Linked DNA regions of Homo sapiens: regions 2, 3 and 4 are each linked to region 1. The links are contacts of gene promoters, found by promoter capture Hi-C in human tissues and cell types (Jung and others, 2019). All regions are on one chromosome and are shown on one strand. The core of a region is centred on a gene start or on the middle of the fragment in contact, and the rest is flanking DNA. Distances in the headings are between cores, read along the strand shown. Region 1 holds the start of CDH26 (cadherin 26). Region 2 overlaps SYCP2 (synaptonemal complex protein 2). Region 3 overlaps SYCP2 (synaptonemal complex protein 2). Region 4 overlaps CDH26 (cadherin 26).

Evidence for each region. The method cuts DNA at HindIII sites, captures the fragments that hold promoters and counts their contacts. A contact is called where the count stands out against the background at its distance.
Region 2: a contact is called between a fragment that was not itself captured here and the fragment with the promoter of CDH26 in region 1, in 2 of the 25 tissues and cell types used here (IMR-90 fibroblasts and lymphoblastoid cells).
Region 3: a contact is called between a fragment that was not itself captured here and the fragment with the promoter of CDH26 in region 1, in 1 of the 25 tissues and cell types used here (stomach).
Region 4: a fragment that was not itself captured here is called in contact with the fragment with the promoter of CDH26 in region 1 in 1 of the 25 tissues and cell types used here (pancreas).

The regions. Positions count from the first base shown.
Region 1 is chr20:59,956,153-59,960,699 of GRCh38, reverse strand. It overlaps CDH26 (cadherin 26), which reads right to left and starts at 2,277. Exons shown (of 18, transcript NM_177980.4): 1 at 1,905-2,277. The coding sequence starts at 1,973. The HindIII fragment of the contact is 5,804 bases long and covers 1-4,547 here.
Region 2 is chr20:59,912,816-59,917,478 of GRCh38, reverse strand. SYCP2 (synaptonemal complex protein 2) reads left to right here. Exons shown (of 45, transcript NM_014258.4): 8 at 908-993; 9 at 1,929-2,014; 10 at 2,280-2,314; 11 at 3,228-3,370; 12 at 3,452-3,504. Among named protein-coding and RNA genes, the nearest start is that of SYCP2, 18 kb to the left of the region's middle. The HindIII fragment of the contact is 4,718 bases long and covers 780-4,663 here.
Region 3 is chr20:59,893,105-59,897,866 of GRCh38, reverse strand. SYCP2 (synaptonemal complex protein 2) reads left to right here. Exons shown (of 45, transcript NM_014258.4): 19 at 1,339-1,438; 20 at 2,270-2,430; 21 at 4,274-4,343; 22 at 4,668-4,725. Among named protein-coding and RNA genes, the nearest start is that of SYCP2, 38 kb to the left of the region's middle. The HindIII fragment of the contact is 4,586 bases long and covers 1-3,543 here.
Region 4 is chr20:59,991,468-59,996,114 of GRCh38, reverse strand. It overlaps CDH26 (cadherin 26), which reads right to left. Exons shown (of 18, transcript NM_177980.4): 10 at 3,595-3,737; 11 at 1,626-1,865; 12 at 61-282. Among named protein-coding and RNA genes, the nearest start is that of CDH26, 35 kb to the right of the region's middle. RefSeq lists an enhancer at 1,351-1,883. The HindIII fragment of the contact is 6,002 bases long and covers 1-4,647 here.

The sequences.
Region 1 (4,547 bases), core at 1,028-3,527:
GTTTTCAAAGGAAAAAATGAGAAGGATTATATCATTGTTTTGAAATAATTATCTTTGGCTACAAAGATCAATAAGAAGGGTGACACTGGTCTGAGTTTGCACAAAAAGTTGCTGGGAAGATTTCTTCGAAAAAGTATTTTTTGTGTAAGGTTTTAACGGCCTTTGTGCAAAGTTGTTATTTTTGCAGAGCTTTTGTGATAGTTTTAGTTATCAAGCCTACAAATGTGAGAACCCCCTTTTCATAACCTTCTTTGTGTCTATATATCAGGCTTTGTGCCTGTGTGTGTGTGTGTGTGTGTGTGTGTTTTAACATAAGGAACTCCATTCTGATTCTGACAACTTTCGCAGTACCAAGGGCTTTTACGCATTTCCTCATTCACTGGTACAACCACTGGCTCAGATAAATTCAGTTACTAGCTCCATTTTCAGGTGAAGAAAAATAGGCTTAACAAGGTTATGTTAAAACCAGTGCACTGACACCCAGTGCACTCCCAGGTCAGCTCAACCTGAACCTTTGGGGGCAAAACCCAGGCACTGAGATCCCTTGAAGCTCCCTAGGTAAGTTCAACTTGATCCAAGGTAAGGAACAAAGTTAAGCTGGCCTAGGTCCCCAGCGGGCTGTGAAGGAGCCTAGGTCAGGACGCCAAGCAGCCCAGTCCAGAGCTCACAGTTACCAGCCACTGGGCTGCTTCCCACCCTCAGCTGGTATTCAAAGGAAGAAATGATTCCCTCTCCCTACCTACAGAAAGCCAACGAAGCAGATCATAACCAACAAGCGCATGCAACATTACCTCTGTCCACTCTAAGTACAAACAGAGCAAGCCCATGTGTTTCGAATCCTGACTCCACTAGTTTGTATTCCCATTTAAACAGTGGCAGTTGGGGGCAATGGATTTAGCCATTCCATCCCCATGGGTTTGCTCAAATTGCCTTGGATCCAGACAACTGAGATTTCCTCAATCTTATGTAAAGTGTGAACAGAAGTATCATTATAAAACTTGGCAGGGCGCAGTGTCTCAAGCCTGTCATCCTAACACTTTGGGAGGCTGAGGCAGGCAGATCACTTGAGGTCAGGAGTTTGAGACCAGCCTGGCCAACATGGTGAAACCCTGTCTCTAATAAAAATACAAAAACTAGCCGGGCATGGTGGCGTGCACCTGTAGTCCCAGTACTCGGGAGGCTGAGCCAGGAGGTTGCTTGAACCCAGTAGGAGGAGGTTGCGGTGCACTGAGATGTCACCACGCACTGTAGCCTGGATGACGAGACCCTGTCTCAAAAAAAAAAAAAAATTGTGTGTGTTGGCTGGGTGAGGTGGCTCATGCCTGTAAACCCAACACTTCGGAAGGGCAAGGCGAATAAATCACTTGAGCTTAGGAGTTCGAGACCAGCCTGGGCAACATGGTGAAAATCCATCTCTATAAAAAATACAGAAATTAGCCAGCGTGGTGGTAAGTTACTGTAGTCCCAGCTACTCTTGAGGCTGAGGTGGAAGGATCACCTGAGCCTGGGAGGTTAAAGCTGCAGTGAGCCTTGATCATGCCACTGCACTCCAGCCTGGATGATGAAGCCAGACCCTGTCTCAACAAAAGGAGAAAGAAACAAAGAAAGAAAACACGTGTGTGTTGATGTAATCTCACTAAAAATAGTGTGAACTATATAAATTAGTTTTAAACAGGTCCCTTAGCCTGCTCCCACTGTTGCCCCAAACAGACTGGGACCCTTAACTTCCCTTTATATAAATCCAGAGCCCCTGCTACCTAAGCCATTCTCAAGACAGCCAGCCCTGGGTCCCAGCAGGTCACACTCAGTCCCTCTCCCCTCCCTTAGCCTAGAAGGGGCAGGGCCAGCTTGTGCTTTGCTTTCAGTTCCCTGCACCTGAGCACTAGGCTGCAGGCTCAGCTTACCTGCAGCAGCCACAGCAGCAGCACTAGAAGCAGCAGCAGCGAGGGGTGCCTCCCGGATCTCATGGCCATATGGGAATACCCAAGACAGACCCAGAACGTGCAGCTGATGACCAGTCCTCCAAGCTGGTGGTCTCACCGGAGCCACACACCTCCTTCTCAGCCAGCAGCTTCTTCTCTAAAGGTTTTCAGGTCACTTTGGCCCAGATGCTTTCATCCCATCTTGCTCCTCCCTTTTCAGCTTTTCTTGCATTTATCAGAGTGGGGTGGGCTGACTTGTAAGCTTGAACATACGTTTGCCACAAGTAGAGTTCCTAGGAAGGGTGGGGTAGAAACTAAAGCCACCATGGTCCTGCACGTACACAAAAGACTGGCTGGGGTCTGACCTCAGGAACAACAGCTCAGCCAGCGGAAGTAAAACCAGCACCTATCGGAAAGCAGAATTATTTGTTTCTTTGTTTCCTTGTTTGTTCTGGTTTCCAAATAGAAGGTCCAATCATCTCTTTCTATAGCAGGATATGTTAGTGACTATTTTCTATAATCTTATCCTCTTGAACCAAACAAAAAAAACTAGAAAATGACAAGAATGATAACTTTATTAAGGGGGAAGGGATGGGGAAGAATGAAAGAAAAGAAAAATCAACTTTTACTTTCCAAAGCACTAAAAATCGTTATTCCAACAATATCCCAGGGCTCTGGGGTTTTCAAATTATTTCTACTAAAACCTTTTTTAAGCTTAGATTAATCTGCCTTTTTGAGTTTGGAATTAAAGTGGGAGGGAGGAGAGATGGGAAAGAGCCTCCCTATGGACAGGGATCTCTGTGGCAACCCGGGAGTCTTTGCATGAGAATTCTGAAAGAGACAATTTGAGATTATATTATACCAATACTTAAGGTTGCAGTAAGCAAGTTTTAAAACACAATCTGTGATACATTAACCCTGATTACCTTAACATGACCTTTTTATCACATTACCTTGTTTAAAGTAGTAAACAGATAAAATAAAAGGTAAACTTTCTTTGCTTGTTCTAGATATTGGCTTAGGCAAGGATTTCATGACCAAGAACCAAAAAGCAAATGCAATAAAATCAAAGATAAATAGCTGGGACCTAATTAAACTAAAGAGCTTTTGCACTGCAAAAGGAACAGTCAGCAGAGTAAACAGACAACCCACAGAGTGGGAGAAAATCTTCACAATCTATACATCTGACAAAGGATTAATATCCAGAATCCACAATGAACTCCAACAAATCAGTAAGAAAAAAACAATCCCATCAAAAAGTGGGATAAGGACATGAATAGACAATTCTCAAAAGAAGATATACAAATGGTCAACAAGCATATGAAAAAATGCTCAACATCACCAATGATCAGCAAAACGCAAATCAAAACCGCAGTGCGATACCACCTTACTCCTGCAAGAATGACCATAATCAAAAAATCAAAAAACAGTAGACGTTGGTGTGGATGTGACAATCAGGGAACACTTCTACACTGCTGGGGGGAATATAACATAGTACAGCTGCTATGGAAAACAGTGTGGAGATTCCTTAAAGAACAAAAGTAGAACTACCATTTGATCCAGCAATCCCACTACTGGGTATCTTCCCAGAGGAAAAGAAGTCATTATTCGAAAAAGATACTTGCACATGCACGTTTATAGCAGCAAAATTCACAATTGCAAAATCGTGGAACCAACCCAAATGCCCATCAATCAACTAGTGGATAAAGAAAATGTGTATATGCGTATCTATATGTATATATACACATATATGCGTGTATATATGTGTATGTACATATATACACATATATGTGTGTATATATGTGTATGTACATATATACACGCATATATGTATATATACACATATATGTGTATATATGTGTATGTACATATATACACATATATACATACATATATACACACATATATGTATATATATACATACACATATATACACACATATATGTATATATATACATACACATATATATACACATATATATGTATATATATGTGTATATACAGATATATATGATGGAATACTACTCAGCCATAAAAAGGAATGAATTAACAGCATTTGCAGTGACCTGGATGAGATTGGAGACTATTATTCTAAATGAAGTAACTCAGGAATGGAAAATCAAACATTGTATATTCTCACTGATTTGTGGGAGCTAAGCTATGAGGACACAAAGGCATAAGAATCATACAATGGACTTTGGGGAATTGGGGGGAAGAGTGGGAAGAGGGTGAGGGATAAAAGACAACAAATATGGTGCAGTGTATACTGCTTGGGTGATGGGTGCACCAGGATCTCACAAATCTCCACTGAAAAACTTACTCATGTAACCAATATGCCACCTGTACCCCAATAACTTATGGAAAAATAAAATTAAAAAATAAAAATAAAAAAGAACTCATCAAAAATAAAATATAAAATAAAAATCTCCCAATTAAAAAAAAAAAACTTTCTTTGCTTAACTGAACATTCATAGCTCTGAGATGCTGCTGAATATTTTAATTTGAATAGTTTATTTTTATTGAAATTAATAGCTTATTATTGAAAAGAATAATAAATACAACTTTAAAGTCTATAGATATTTCCTGTGCATAAAGAGAAACTGAATACCTTGTGCCTATTTTCAA
Region 2 (4,663 bases), core at 1,889-4,388, 44 kb after region 1:
TCATCTGAGTACTTTTTTCTTTTTATGCAGTCACTTTGGAAAACTGTACATTTGTTGTTACAGTATTTCCATTGTTTAAAGTTATTTTTAAAATTTGCATTATGAAACAGCATGTACACATTCCTCTGAATATACTTAGTATTGATAAAGCCTCATCTTTCAAAAATGCGTTAACGTAAAAGGGGCTCACATCATTTAGAACTTCATTGGGGTTAAGATGTGTTGGTCTTTATGGGTATAAAAATTTTTGATGTATAACTAAAAATTAATGAGGTCAGTTTTGGTAAAAGCCTTAGAATTGAAGTTTTCAATTTTGAACTATATTTACTTAATCTAAAAAAAAAAATAAATACCTCCTTATGTGCCTGCAGTTAGAAACTAGATCTAGAGTTGTCCCTTGACAGTATTAAAATCAGTCACATTTGTTGAGTGGTGTTTTTTGCAAGGCCAAGTAGAATTAGGACTTAATTTCATTCTTTCTCATCCCCAAGCCCTGGTGGGCCTTCTTCTGAACTGCAGTAGTATATCCTTTCCACTAACTCTTTATTTATTTTTATTTTTTGAGACAGGGTCTCACTCTCACCCAGGCTGGAGTACAGTGGCACGATCACGGCTCACTGCAGCTTTGACCTCCTGGGCTCAGGTGATTCTCCCACCTCAGCCTCCCATGTAGCTGGGATTACAGGTGCCCGGCTAATTTTTGTACAGACAGGATTTTGCCATGTTGCCCAGGCTGGTCTCAAACTCCTGGGCTCAAGCAGTCTACCTATCTGGGCCTTCCAAAGTGCTAGGATTATAGGCCTGAGTTACCATGCCTGGCCCCTTTCCACTAACTCTTATAAGAAAAGACTGACAGTTAAGAGGATTTGAAATGAACATTTATCAATAATTTAACACTTTTATTCAGGTAAAAAACAAGTAGTGGAAAGTTTCGTACCTCGCATTTGTTCCCTGGTTATTGACTCAAGAGTGAATATTTGTATTCAGCAAGAGGTAAAGTCATTTATTTGTGTTTTAAAAACTAAAAATGAGAACGTGAAGAAAATCAATAGCAATTAAATTGACAATTTATTTCATGTAGGACAAAATTACTTAGCTTGGAGTATATTTCTATCATAATCTATTGCCTGACATATTTCCGAAATACTTACTGAAAATTTATAACCATATGGGTTTATGTGTGCATATAGCTCAAGTGGAAATAAATTATACCAACCAGATTTTTGGGGTGCTTAAGTATTTAAATGCTAAAAATAATCTGTATTAGTATATGTATGTGTGTACATGTACTATAATCATAAGAACAAAATAAAGTAACATTTTTTGGCTTCCTCAGATCTTATAATGGAGTTAAAATAAATACAAGTTTTATTGCAAAAAGTACAAGTGCTTTAAGTATCGGAGTCATGTTATATTCTATTTTTGATATTCTATAGTTTATGTTGTTTTTATATTCATTATTTTATACTTTATTATTTTTATTTTTTTGAGAGAGTCTTGCTCTATCTGCCTAGGCTGGAGTGCAGTGGCGCAATCTCAGCTCACTGCAACCTCTGCCTCCCAGGTTCAAGCGCTTCTCCTGCCTCCCTTCCGAGTAGCTGGGATTACAGGCACGTGTTACCATGCCCAGCTAATTTTTGTATTTTTGGTAGAGACGGGGTTTCACTATGTTGGCCAGGCTGATCTCGAACTCCTGACATCAAGTGATCCGCCCGCCTTGGCCTCCCAAAGTGCTGGTATTATAGTGAGCCACCATGCCTGGCCTATTTTATACTTTATATATTCTTTCCTCCATCCTACTCCATTCCCATAATAAAACTCAGTGATTAAGAAAAAATTAGGCTTCTAAGTTTATGTGCCTAGAATATTTCTCTTAATAGTGTTTCACTGAATGTAAAGTTAATGCATTATCTTTTTTTCTTTTCTAGATTATAAAAAAAATGAATGCTATGCTTGACAAAATGCCTCAAGATGCCCGGAAAATACTCTCTAACCAAGAAATGTTAATTCTCATGTAATAATCTGTACTTATATGGTTTTTATTCTTAAAATCCATAAGAATGTTTTATAAGACAGACAACTATGAGTTTGCATTAATAATGAAACTGATAAACTGTTGCAGCTTTTTAATATAATTTAGTGTATGCATATAATTTCTGCAAAAGTCGATGATATTAGCCAATTGTAAATTTTTGTGAAGTTTCTTTTCCTCCTAAACATGTGGACTTCCTATTTAATTGATACTGGTCTATTTTGTAATCTGTTATTTTAATTCACAGGAGTAGTATGGGAGAAAGGATTTTAGATGCTGGAGGTAAGTATGTCTTTTCCAAATCTAAAATTATTCCATATTTATGAATAGCAGATAGTATCTTTTTAATTTAAATATTAGCATAGCAATGTGAGACTGAGGGAATTATAAACATTATGTACAATTAAGCAATTTTTAATAAATATACATGAAATTTGTCTGGGACAAAAATAATTTATGACAGTAGGCGTTAGATACATACAATTTGTGCCTAATGGTAGACTTATGAATAATATAGCTTAATAGCTTAAATTAATAGCTTAATTTAATAGCTTAATATAATAGCTTAATTAATAAAGCTTAAATTAATAGATTAATATAATAGCTTAATATAATGGCTTAATTTTTCAGTAGACCTGAACTACTTGTGCTAAGAAATTCCTCAGATTTTTTTATGAAATTAGGGTGTCTAATATTCTTCATATTGATGGATTTGTTTTTAAACAATGTGTTTATTAAAATAACTTAAAATTTATTTTCTAAGCTTTTTGTGAATGAATTTTAATATGGTGATTTACATGTAGAATAAATCATGGTTTAAAGTACTCTGGGATAACTGTAAACATGTTACACAAGAGGAAAACAGACTTTGTAACTTACAGACAACTGTGTGGGTTACTTTGCATTTTATATCTCTAATAATAATGAAATGGCAGTGTCTTTGAATATTTAGAAGTCTCAACATTTTTTTAAATTTTACTTATTTCTTCTGTTGGCACACTTGTTATTTGGGCTGTGTTAATTCCTCAAATGATGAGATATTTCTAATCCATATGAAGAAAATATTAATAGATTAATCAATTACATTAATATATTCTTATTTCTCTTGCTTATTCTAATACCTTGTAAAATATATGGTCTTTTATAAACTTAATTTTCATAATTGTAAATCAAACATTAACTATTTTTTTAATAGATTATGACTTACAGGTAGGCATTGTAGAAGCTTTGTGTAGAATGACCACAGAAAAACAAAGACAAGAACTGGCACATCAGTGGTTTTCAATGGATTTTATTGCTAAGGCATTTAAAAGAATTAAGGACTCTGAATTTGAAACAGTAAGTTGTATAACAATAACAGAAATTCGTGAATTTTTAAAAATTATTATGATTTTTAAAAGTATTTCTCTTTAAAATTAGGATTGCAGGATATTTCTCAACCTTGTAAATGGCATGCTTGGAGACAAAAGAAGGTAAACTTAATGCAAGATACAACCATTTACTGTCAAATAAATAGAGCTCAAGAGTGAGCACCCAGTGTTGCATCTTTATACATTTAACTTTATTCTTGTTCTCTACACTATGTTGGAGTGTAGAATGTGCATAGATAATTTAAAACAATAACATGATTTTAGCAAATTACTACACCAGTAATCTGAAATAATTCTGCACTGGCCTTGTTTTATTTTGTACTTTTTAGAGGGAAAAGTTCATTTCTGTTTAATTCATATTAATTAATAACTTTAGATGTTCAAAATTGGCTTACTATACTTCTGAGTTGCATATCCATTATTATTTAATGTTTGAGGGATAATAAAAATCTAGACATATTTATTACTTGAATCATCTCCTTCATCCACATACTGGAATGTAAATATATAGCAAACAAATCATCTTCCTTTATAATTAACATACAGTAAGTAGGATCTTTCTGAGGGGCATGAAAGGATGTGTAATATAAATTTTAATCTTTTTTTTATAACGACAGAAAAACAGAATTTGCAATGCCTAGCACCTCATAGATGTTCAACATAATTATTGGATGAATGAGTTCACATTTATTTTACTTACTAAAGAAATTAACGGTATTGTAAGGGTTGTGCAAGGAGTCATATTACCTGATTTGAATCATAAGTTCCTCTCTTCCTGTTCTAATATTGGGCAAATTATTTAACCTTACATGCCTCAGTTTCCTTAGCTGTTATATTAATAACTACCTCATATGTTTGTGATATAGATTAAAATGAGATAATATGCTAACTATGTAAAATAGTATCTAAGAAAGAATTCTGTGAATTTAACCATTTTTAATGTAATTATTCACTTGTATTCTTATTTAAGTTCTATGGAAACAATAAGCTAAGTTAGGAAACTCTGCTCATATTTGATAGCACACTGTATTAGTCTGTTTTAATACTGCTGATAAAGACATACTGGAGACTGAGACATTTAAAAAAGAAAGAGATTTAATTGGACTTAAAGTTCCATGTGGCTGGGGAAGCCTCACTATCATGGCAGAAGGCAAGGAGGAGCAAGTCCCATCTTACGTGGATAGCAGCAGGCAAAGAAAGAATGAGGAAGATGCAAAAGGGGAAACCCCTGATAAAACCATCAGATCTCGTGAGAGTTACT
Region 3 (4,762 bases), core at 1-2,500, 62 kb after region 1:
GGTGATCTGCCCTTCTCGGCCTCCCAAAGTGCTGGGATTACAGGCATGAGCCACTGCACCCGGCCCATTTTTTGATTTCTTCGTGGAGCTTTGCCTGATTATTTCAGTTTTTACTAATCTCTCACCTTTACGTAACTATAACTCTCACAGGCACTTCCATATATTTTGGCATGTTTATGTTACTATTTTGTTTTTTAGTCTTTTGTTCTCAATTAAAAGTGTCATTTATTTCCCCGAGATAATTAGCACATGAAAGCTATTTTTGGTGTCTTTATATCAGAATCATGTTGGGTGCTTATTAACAATGCTGATTCTTAGCCCCACCTTAAATCTGTTGAATCTTAAACTCTTGGAAAGGTCTTAAGCACACCAAAGTTCGAAAAACACCATACTACTGTTAAATACCTGTGCTCTGTTTTCAATAAGGATGAACTGTTTGAGGCATTTATATGAATAAGTAACTGTTCAGGTTCCATTCACTATGCCACTAAAAACTTAATTTCTCTAAGAAAAATCTGTTGGCTCAGAAGCTTGTTTTCTAGTTAATCTTAGAATTTTCTTTTATCTTATCCTTTCCATCCTTCCCTCACGTTTCATATACATACCCACTCACAACTGTATCATTTTTTCCCCTGTTCTAGGGACAGGTGCCTTAAAACCAGCTCTTTTATGCCTCTATGCAGTATGTCACCATCTACTTCTTAATATGGCATCCTCTGAAACTCCTGTCTCTTGTAGTCCCTGCCTCTGCTTATCTACTTCTGTCCCTCTTATAAATTAGTGTGAGATGATATGGGAGAAAACAAATCTTTATTGGAACCACTAGATTATGTGCCACTGAATCTATGAATTCCTGCAGCTACTTCACTCCAGTTTAGTCTTCACAGATTATTAGTACAATTTTCAAAAATGTGTGAATGTTTTGAAGAAAGCTTAACATGAAAGCACTCAAAATAATTTCATATAAATATGTAATCCAAACATTATCCTCATGATATAGAATAGGAAATTGCAAGCTATGGTTAACTAGATAAACTCAATATTGATAAAATATTTTCAGCTAGCATATAAAGGTACTGTACTTCATAGGCATGGATATTCTATAAATATTCTTTAAAACAATGTTCCTTACTTGTTTTAGCTACTTATTTAATACCAAACATGAAGATGAACCTTTCATATCAGCCTAAAACATGGAAATTTATGAATATTGTGTTGTTTATTTAAAAAACATATATCTTTGGCATGTATCAAGGCAAAATGTTATAAGTAAAATTGTAGGATATTTAATTTCAAAAAGACTGTGTTTACAGTGGTTGTTTTTCATCGTGGTTTCAGAAAACTACTCCTAGCAAAAGAAAAATGTCTGAAGCATCAATGATTGTTTCTGGTGCAGATAGATACACTATGAGAAGTCCAGTGCTTTTCAGCAACACATGTAAGTTTTATAGTTTTAAAAGATTTCTAACAATTATTTTAAAGGAGGCATTTTTTAATTTAAGGCAATTCTGAACATAATTTACATAAAGGATAAGTTTGGTGTATAAAAATTGATAAAATATGAACCACAAATGTCTTCTAATGGGAAGAAAAGTATAATGCTAACATATGAACAGAACAGTGTTGAAAATACTAATATTCGACATTAATAATTTATTATAATTTAAGCAGGACACAGCATATCTTACTGGTTAAAACACTGAATTAACCAGGCCAGGTGGACTTAGCTCCCCACTTCCAGCTGTGTACTTTGTACAGATATCCTCTAGCTAAATTTAGAACCAGTTTTTTTTTCTATAAGTGGCACTTAAGTATCTATCTTATCAAGTTGTTTAGAGGATTAAATAAAAATCACTCATTTAATAAGTTACCTAGTGAAACTTTAAACAGTGCCTGATACATACTAAGAGCTAAATAAAAGTTTTAAAAAACCTGATACTGTGTACTAGTTAAAGTCTTAGTCTATATGACAACTTAACATTGACCTTCTGTTCTAAAAATCTTGTTGCCTACTGGCCAATTGCTTAGTATCTGACAGGCTCCCCAAATGTAATAGGTCCAAAATTAAATTAATCTTTCCACCCTTCCTGCAAATTTTTCCTTCACTTATTATCTTGGTAGATGGCATCTATATTCACTTAATTATCTAAGCCAGAAACCTGGGAACCATCTAAGAATGTTCGTTTCTTACCTTTCTCATTGGAAAAGTACCTCAATAATAGCAATAGGTAAAAAAAGAAAAATCTGCAATCCTTGTCCTCCTTTTTAGCAATACCACCACGAAGAAGAAGAATTAAACCACCACTGCAAATGACGAGCTCTGCAGAGAAACCTAGTGTTTCTCAAACATCAGAAAATAGAGTGGATAATGCTGCATCACTGAAATCTAGATCATCAGAAGGAAGACATAGAAGAGATAATATAGACAAAGTAACTTTACCTTGAAAGTATTTTAAAAATATTTTTTCAAGTAATTGTGGAAATATGTATTGAGCTAACTCCTTTTGCAAGCTGCAAGTGTCTCATTTTGTTTAAAGCATTACCTTTTTTCCCCTAAATATTTATTGCCCTTGAAAGTAGGGTCCTTCTGGCATATGACTCATTTACTGTGCTTACAATAAAAGTTATGAATATTAATTCACTATAACTTGATTTACACATTTGGGAGCATAAATGAACCTGCCATAATTATTTAGTTGATTATACAAATTGGTGACTACTATGGGGAAGACTCTGGTATAGGAATGCGAAGTACAAGTGGACTGTGTCCTTAAGTTTCTCAAAATTTAGCATGAAAATTAGATACTAAGTTACATAAGCATTCTCAGATTTACACATATAGGATGCAGTAGGAACCAAGTTAGAGGGTCAAGTGCCTAACCCCATAGCTAGAGGTGAGGGTGAAGATCAGGAGATGCTTTTTAAGAAAATATGGAGAATGAATTGACTTTTGAAAGGTCAATAAAGAGTCAAATGGATATTGAGGAGAAGGGCATTTGTTCCAGGTAGTTGAAAAGACAAAGCAGGAATGGATAAGAGAGAATAGTTTCTTGGAGAAACAGGAGGTGATCAGCGATGCAGATAAGCTTGTAAAGGAGGAACATCTAATAGCTTTTGTTTTTTCTGAAGTGTGAAGATGGTGAGTTTCTCCTGGAGATCTGTTGAAGTACAGGGTTCAGGGACATGTAAAGCTATGTGCAAGGTAATGGAGAGGCCTAAGAATAAGTGTTAGACAATGTTGACCCAGTTTAAATATGACTATGAATTTTATAGCATAAATATGTTCATAAATATGTACAATTTTCTCAAAGCTTAGTAGTCTTGGTGTTAATAGTAAGATGAGAACAGATGATGGATTCTATTTTTTTAATTTAAATGGGTATGTGGTAGAAAGATAAAGGGTATGAGAGTTGAAGATATTAAAAGAAAATAGTCAAAGTAATGGTTCAAGTTGTCTAAGTGTTTCTTAATAAGGGGATTATTTTTCAGTTGTGCGACATGGTCCTAAATGTTGTAGGATGATAAGCATCCTAGCTAGGATTGTGCTTACCTATTGTCAGGAGAACCCCTCTGTCATTGTGACAACCCAAACCACACCTGCATATTTCCATAATGTTCCCCTCCTAGTGTGGAGAATCACTGGCTAGAGTAAGAAGGAAAGGCAGCCAGGATGAGGCAAAATAGCTTAGACTAAAGGGAATATTTTTCTGATAATAGTGGCAGATTTGTATTTGATCTGGATTAAGTGTTATCTTTGGCTATGGAAATAGGGAAGCTTGCTGTAGGAAAGAAGTTACCTGGGTAATGCAATAGATATTGTTATAAATAAAAAACTTAGCTAAACAAAAATCGTCCTCTTCGATATCTGATGATAATTCTGAAGAAACAGGAAAAGTGAAATATAAGAAAGAAAGAATGGACCATATCAAAATAGATAAAGCAGGCTATGTAATCAACAGCAGCAGGAGAGATTCCTCATGGAGAGTCTAGAAATTGTCAGTTACAGATGAAAACTGAATTATTATGCTAGCTATGGATGTGATCAGAAAATTTATGCAATATTCTGCCTCGTCTGCAGTGACAGTTTTCTTCTTGTGTTTCAGGATAGGGAATATTCAAAAACGGGCATAACGTTTATGAAATATATAAAAATAGTATCCAACTTTTCATATCAAGGCAGATTTGTTTTAAAAGACTCAAACCTTAATACTGTAACATTTAGGTTTTCATATAACATCTTAAGTTTACGTTAACCTGTTTCCTGTGTTTACAGCATATCAAAACTGCTAAGTGTGTAGAAAACACAGAAAATAAGAATGTTGAATTCCCAAACCAAAATTTTAGTAAGTACCTTGTGGTTTAATTTAGTCATTTTTTTAAGAAAATGTATATACTTCTCCCTGTATTACCATTTAACCCCACTGGCTTTCATTGATTTGAAAAAGATTTACAAAGAATTTGTTTGACTTTGTGCAAGGAATTTTTGAGGTTACAAGGAAATATACCACCTTTGTTCCCCAGAAGTTTGGGTTTAAGAGAGAGGATGCAAAATCGATCAATCCGTTCATCCCAATATGTGAACCTTTATAGATTTCTATACTAACCTCCCTATCCCCCTGCCAACTGCATGAAAAAAATGAAAATATTATAATATTTGTTTTATTTAGGTGAACTCCAGGATGTTATACCAGATTCACAGGCAGCGGAAAAAAGAGATCATACTATGTAAGTATGAGAAAACCATCAAATCATTTAGTCTATA
Region 4 (4,647 bases), core at 1,579-4,078, 35 kb before region 1:
CCTGGCCTATTGCCTGGGGAGAGGAGCCACAGTCCCAGGACACCCCTACAGACCACTGACCTGCCAGAGCCACAAATGCTGCACAGACAGGGAACAGGGCCCCCACATGAAGCCCCACTTCTGCATCTGCAAGCTCCACACATGTGAGCCCACTGGCACAGGGGCAGATCCTTACATGGACAGTTTGCTTCTGGGAAAGTCCCTGTTTGTCTCCAATGAAGAGTGGCACCAAGTAATTACCACGTGGCAGGCTTCTCAAGGTTAAAAGTTCAACTGATTGACCTGCAAAGGGAAAAAGAACATGGCATGCATTGACTCACTCATCTGCTCATCTGCTCAACACACGCTTACTGAACGCCCTGCACGGGCCAAGCTCTGTATGAAAGTAAGCCAACTGCAGAGTTAGAGGGAGGGGTCCTCAAGGGTACCCTCACTTCTGACATCAACTGCAAGTTCACGGATTCCTAAGACCACCCTCAGGTTCAACAATTCTCTAGAAAGACTCACAGAACACACTGAAAGTTGTTACAGTGATGGTGCCGTTTTTTACAGGGAAAAGATACAGACGTAAATCACACAAGGAAAGAGGCACCTAGGGCAGAGTCCAGAAAAGCACCAGTAGCAGAGCTTCTCATCATCCACTCCCGAGAAGCCAGGTCAGCATCGATGAGGGACAGCACACATGGGATGCTGCAGTCAGGGACGTTCACCTGAGCCTCAGGCTCCAGTGTCCTCCTGGGGCTTGGTCAGGCAACCTGGTGGGCCTCCCAGGTGGGCGGCCTCAGTCTCCAGCCTCTCTGGTAATAGACTGATACTATGTGACCAGAAGTCCCCAGTGTAAATCACATTGCCCCTATCCGGCTCAGCCCAAGACACCCCAGGTAAAGAGACACTGGTGTCAGACATGATACCCCAATAGAGATCACCCAGACCCCAAGGACAAAGACCAGACCTCTCTTTGGGCAAGGCGAAGTGCTTTACCACACACTCCAGGTCTGAGAACTACAAACTTGAGCACACAGTTTCAGCTGAAACCGTGCCACAGTCTACAGACGCCACGGCTAGAGGCACAGAAGAGAGTGTTGACAGTGGATGCCAGTTGCTTTTAACCTGCTCAGCATGTTCATCTTCTGGTAACAGTGCCCCAGTGTTTCCTTAGGGAAGCCCACACTTCCTGAATTCTCAGTATGAATCAGGAGAGGGTGAGCCCAGATCCCAACAAGGTCCAGGTGTGGGCTGGGAACCAGCCAATCAGCACATCCGCCCTCCCAAGTCCCACCCACAGTGATTGACAGGGCAGCTGACCCAGGCCAAACAGTGACGTCAATCCTGGAGCTTCCCTGGAAACACCCTTCTTGCCAGATGCAAGAATATGTCTCAGGGACTCCCAGCAGCCTCCTACCCCCTGATGAGGAGAGTTTCCTAAAAAAGAAGGAACCTAGAGAAAGGCAGACCATGTGTGGGAAGGATATCCAGGGATATCCTTTGAGCACCTAGAGCCAGCTCTGCCAGAACGCAGACCTCTCCGGTTTTTTAAGCTAATAAAGTCCTTTTTTGCCTAAATCTGTTTGAATTGGATATCTGGCATTTTCCACTCTTTGCCCGTAACCAATACAAAAACTCACCCCAATTTCTCCCCAACTTCCATGTGTCCTCCGCATTTCCCCAGGTATTGTCCAATTCAAATGTAAATGGGTCAGAGAACGGCTCCAGGTCCGGATCCTCTGCCTCGATGTGGAGGGGCTCATGCACAGCAGACTCACAGACCTCCATGTAGCGGGAACGTGGCCGGAGAGTCGGGACGTTGTCATTGATGTCAGACAGGAAGAGCATTAGGGTCCCTGTAGCAGTCTGCGGTGGGAAGCCTTGTATGGGGAGGAAGTTTCAGGAGTTGTTTATCTCGTGCACACACAGCTCTGGAGAATGAGCACTCTCCGTCTCTCAGAAAAAAAATATTCCTGAAATACTGGAACTGTTTCCCTTTCAACGTCATAAGCTCTCCTGGCATGCACGTGATCTGTTTTCCTGCTTTTATGAGCATTCAGAATATTTGGGTAAGCTAATAAAGCACTTACCACCTCAAATCACTTGTAGAACAAGGTAGAATGTGGCTTCATTAAAAAAACAAAAGGTCAATCAATGGTGCCAGGCATCAAGGATGGGTGGGGTGGAGGAAAATGGGTGTGACTAAAGAAGGGCACCATGGGGGTCCCCAAGGGGAGGCAAATGCGCTGCGTCTCCGCGTTGATGTACTGGTTACAAGGTTACACTGTAGTCCTGCAAGGTGTTGCCCCTGGGGAAAACTGGCAAAGGATACTCAGGATCCACTAGATTATTTCTTAAAACTGCAAGTGAATCTACAATTATCTAAAACGACTTTTTCTAATTCAAAAAAGTGGCAATCATCACTTCATAACTGCAAATATATGGAGCCAACCTAAATGCCCATCGACCAATGAGTGGATAAAGAAAATGTGGCATATGTATACTATGGAATACTACTCAGCCATAAAAAAGAATGAAATCATGTTTTTTTGCAGACACTTGAATAGAGCTGGAGGCCATTCTTCTAAGTGAATAACTCAGGAATAGAAAATCAAATACTGTATGTTCTCACTTATAAGTGGGAGCTAAGCTATGGATACACAAAGGCATGAGTGATATCATGAACTCTGGAGACCCAGAAGCAGGGGAGGAGGGAGCCAAGGGCTAAGAAATCTCACATTGGATACAAGGTACTCTACTCAGGTGACCAGTGCACTAAAATCTTAGACTTCACCACTGCATAATTCATCTACGTAACCAAAAACCACTTGTACCCCAAAAGCTTTTGAAATACAAAAAGCAAAAAATAAAGGAAAAAAAAAGTACCAATCATAAAATCATCCATAACAGAATGACGGAACCCTGAAACACTGGCCCCATTTTTTCTCCTCCCTTAATGCTGATTAGGAACACGTGTTTCATATCTCCATTGCCCCCCGCCAACATTCCACTAGTTAATTACAGAATGGAACGTATAGTGATATATCACTTGGAGCTTGGGTTTTAGTTCACAGACTTTCTTAAATACAATTTTAAAGTTATTTGAACATTTTTATTTCTTCAACTCTGCTTTGGTGTGTTTAAAGTTTCAGCCTTAGGAGAGTGTAGAGAAAAATGCTGAAACAGGCTTATAAAACCACCCATTCTGGTTTATGACAAATGTGTCCCTTACAGTCCCATTTATCTGAGCTCGTATGCCATCCCAAGCACAGGGAAGCTGTGCTAAATATTTATCACACATCATTGGCTTTGACAAAGAGCTAAAGAGTTAGCTCATGAACAGATGAAAAAGATGCTGGGTTTGATTGCAGCCTCCTTGCTGGTTTAATTGTCTCTTCTGAATGAATACTGCCCTCTTTCGATGGTATTGGTCCCTTGTTTACCATTTTAAGAATTATTACCAAAAATAATCACCAGCATGGATGCAGAGTGATAACAAGGTTTATTTTATCCTTTTCTCTGCTGTGCTGAAAGACGCTCACCAGGGTTATTTTCCCGCAGGAAGCAAGAATGAGCATTTTATTTTTCCAATTTTGGGTAAACACTCACCATCATCAACAGCGTGAATGATGATTACATAAAAACTGTTATTTACATGAGGGGATTCTCGGTCAATTGGCTCCACGGTGATGACCACTCCGGAGTTTTTGTCGACGCTGACCCAATTTGCTGGGTCATGAACCAGTTCATATCTTGTAGAAGGAAAACGGACAGCAATTTTTAAAATTAAAAACTTACATTAAAAGATAAAAAAGTTGCATAAAAAAACAAAATATGTCATAGAAACACTATTTCTACCACAAGTAATTTGAGAAATTCTAAGAGCAATTAAACTACGAGAGTGTTTAATTCACGAAAGGAATGGAAGCACAGGGAGGACAGCCTAAAGACTCTCCTAGGTCTGTGGAATTGACATTCACCAGAAGACCAAGCGTCCCCCTCCTTGTTGGACTGAACATAGTTTTGTCTGCCTTGGGGAGATGATTCATCCTGGAAAGGAACCCATCTTCAGTGGCCTGTAGATGATGTTAGCTTAGTGTGAAAAACCAACCTGCCCTTGCAACAGAAACCTAGGACTTTACCCCTGGTGTGTTCCCTTTGCAGCAGAGCCCTGGCAGTTCACAGTTGGGTAACCCTATTCCTCAAAGTGGTCTTCTACATCCCCCTCACCTATGTGAACCTGACACCACTGTAAGGGGTGGGCCACGCCAAGCCCTCCAGCATTCCTGAGAGCTGTCAGCCATTGGATTGCATCCTTTGCAACCTTGCCAGGTTGCCACCCCAGCTACCTGTTGAGGGCACCGCAGCAGGAACCTCCTGGACTCAGGCAAACAACAACAACAACAAAAAGTGCAGGTCCCAGAAAGGTGCGGAGAGGGGCAGTTTCTCCTTATGCTTTTCCTTCATCTTCTGGGCAAATGTTTTTCAAAGGGTCAGCAAGGATCCCTCTCTCATGTTGCGTGGGTCACAGTTTTTAAAGGGATTGAAGCTTTTTGTGCACTGCTTCACCTCTTAGGGAAAGTTCCAGAAGTTCCTTAGAAGCACTGTGATTTTGCAATGTTTACAAACGAGGGGAAGAAACTCAGAGTTCCTCTGTGGATT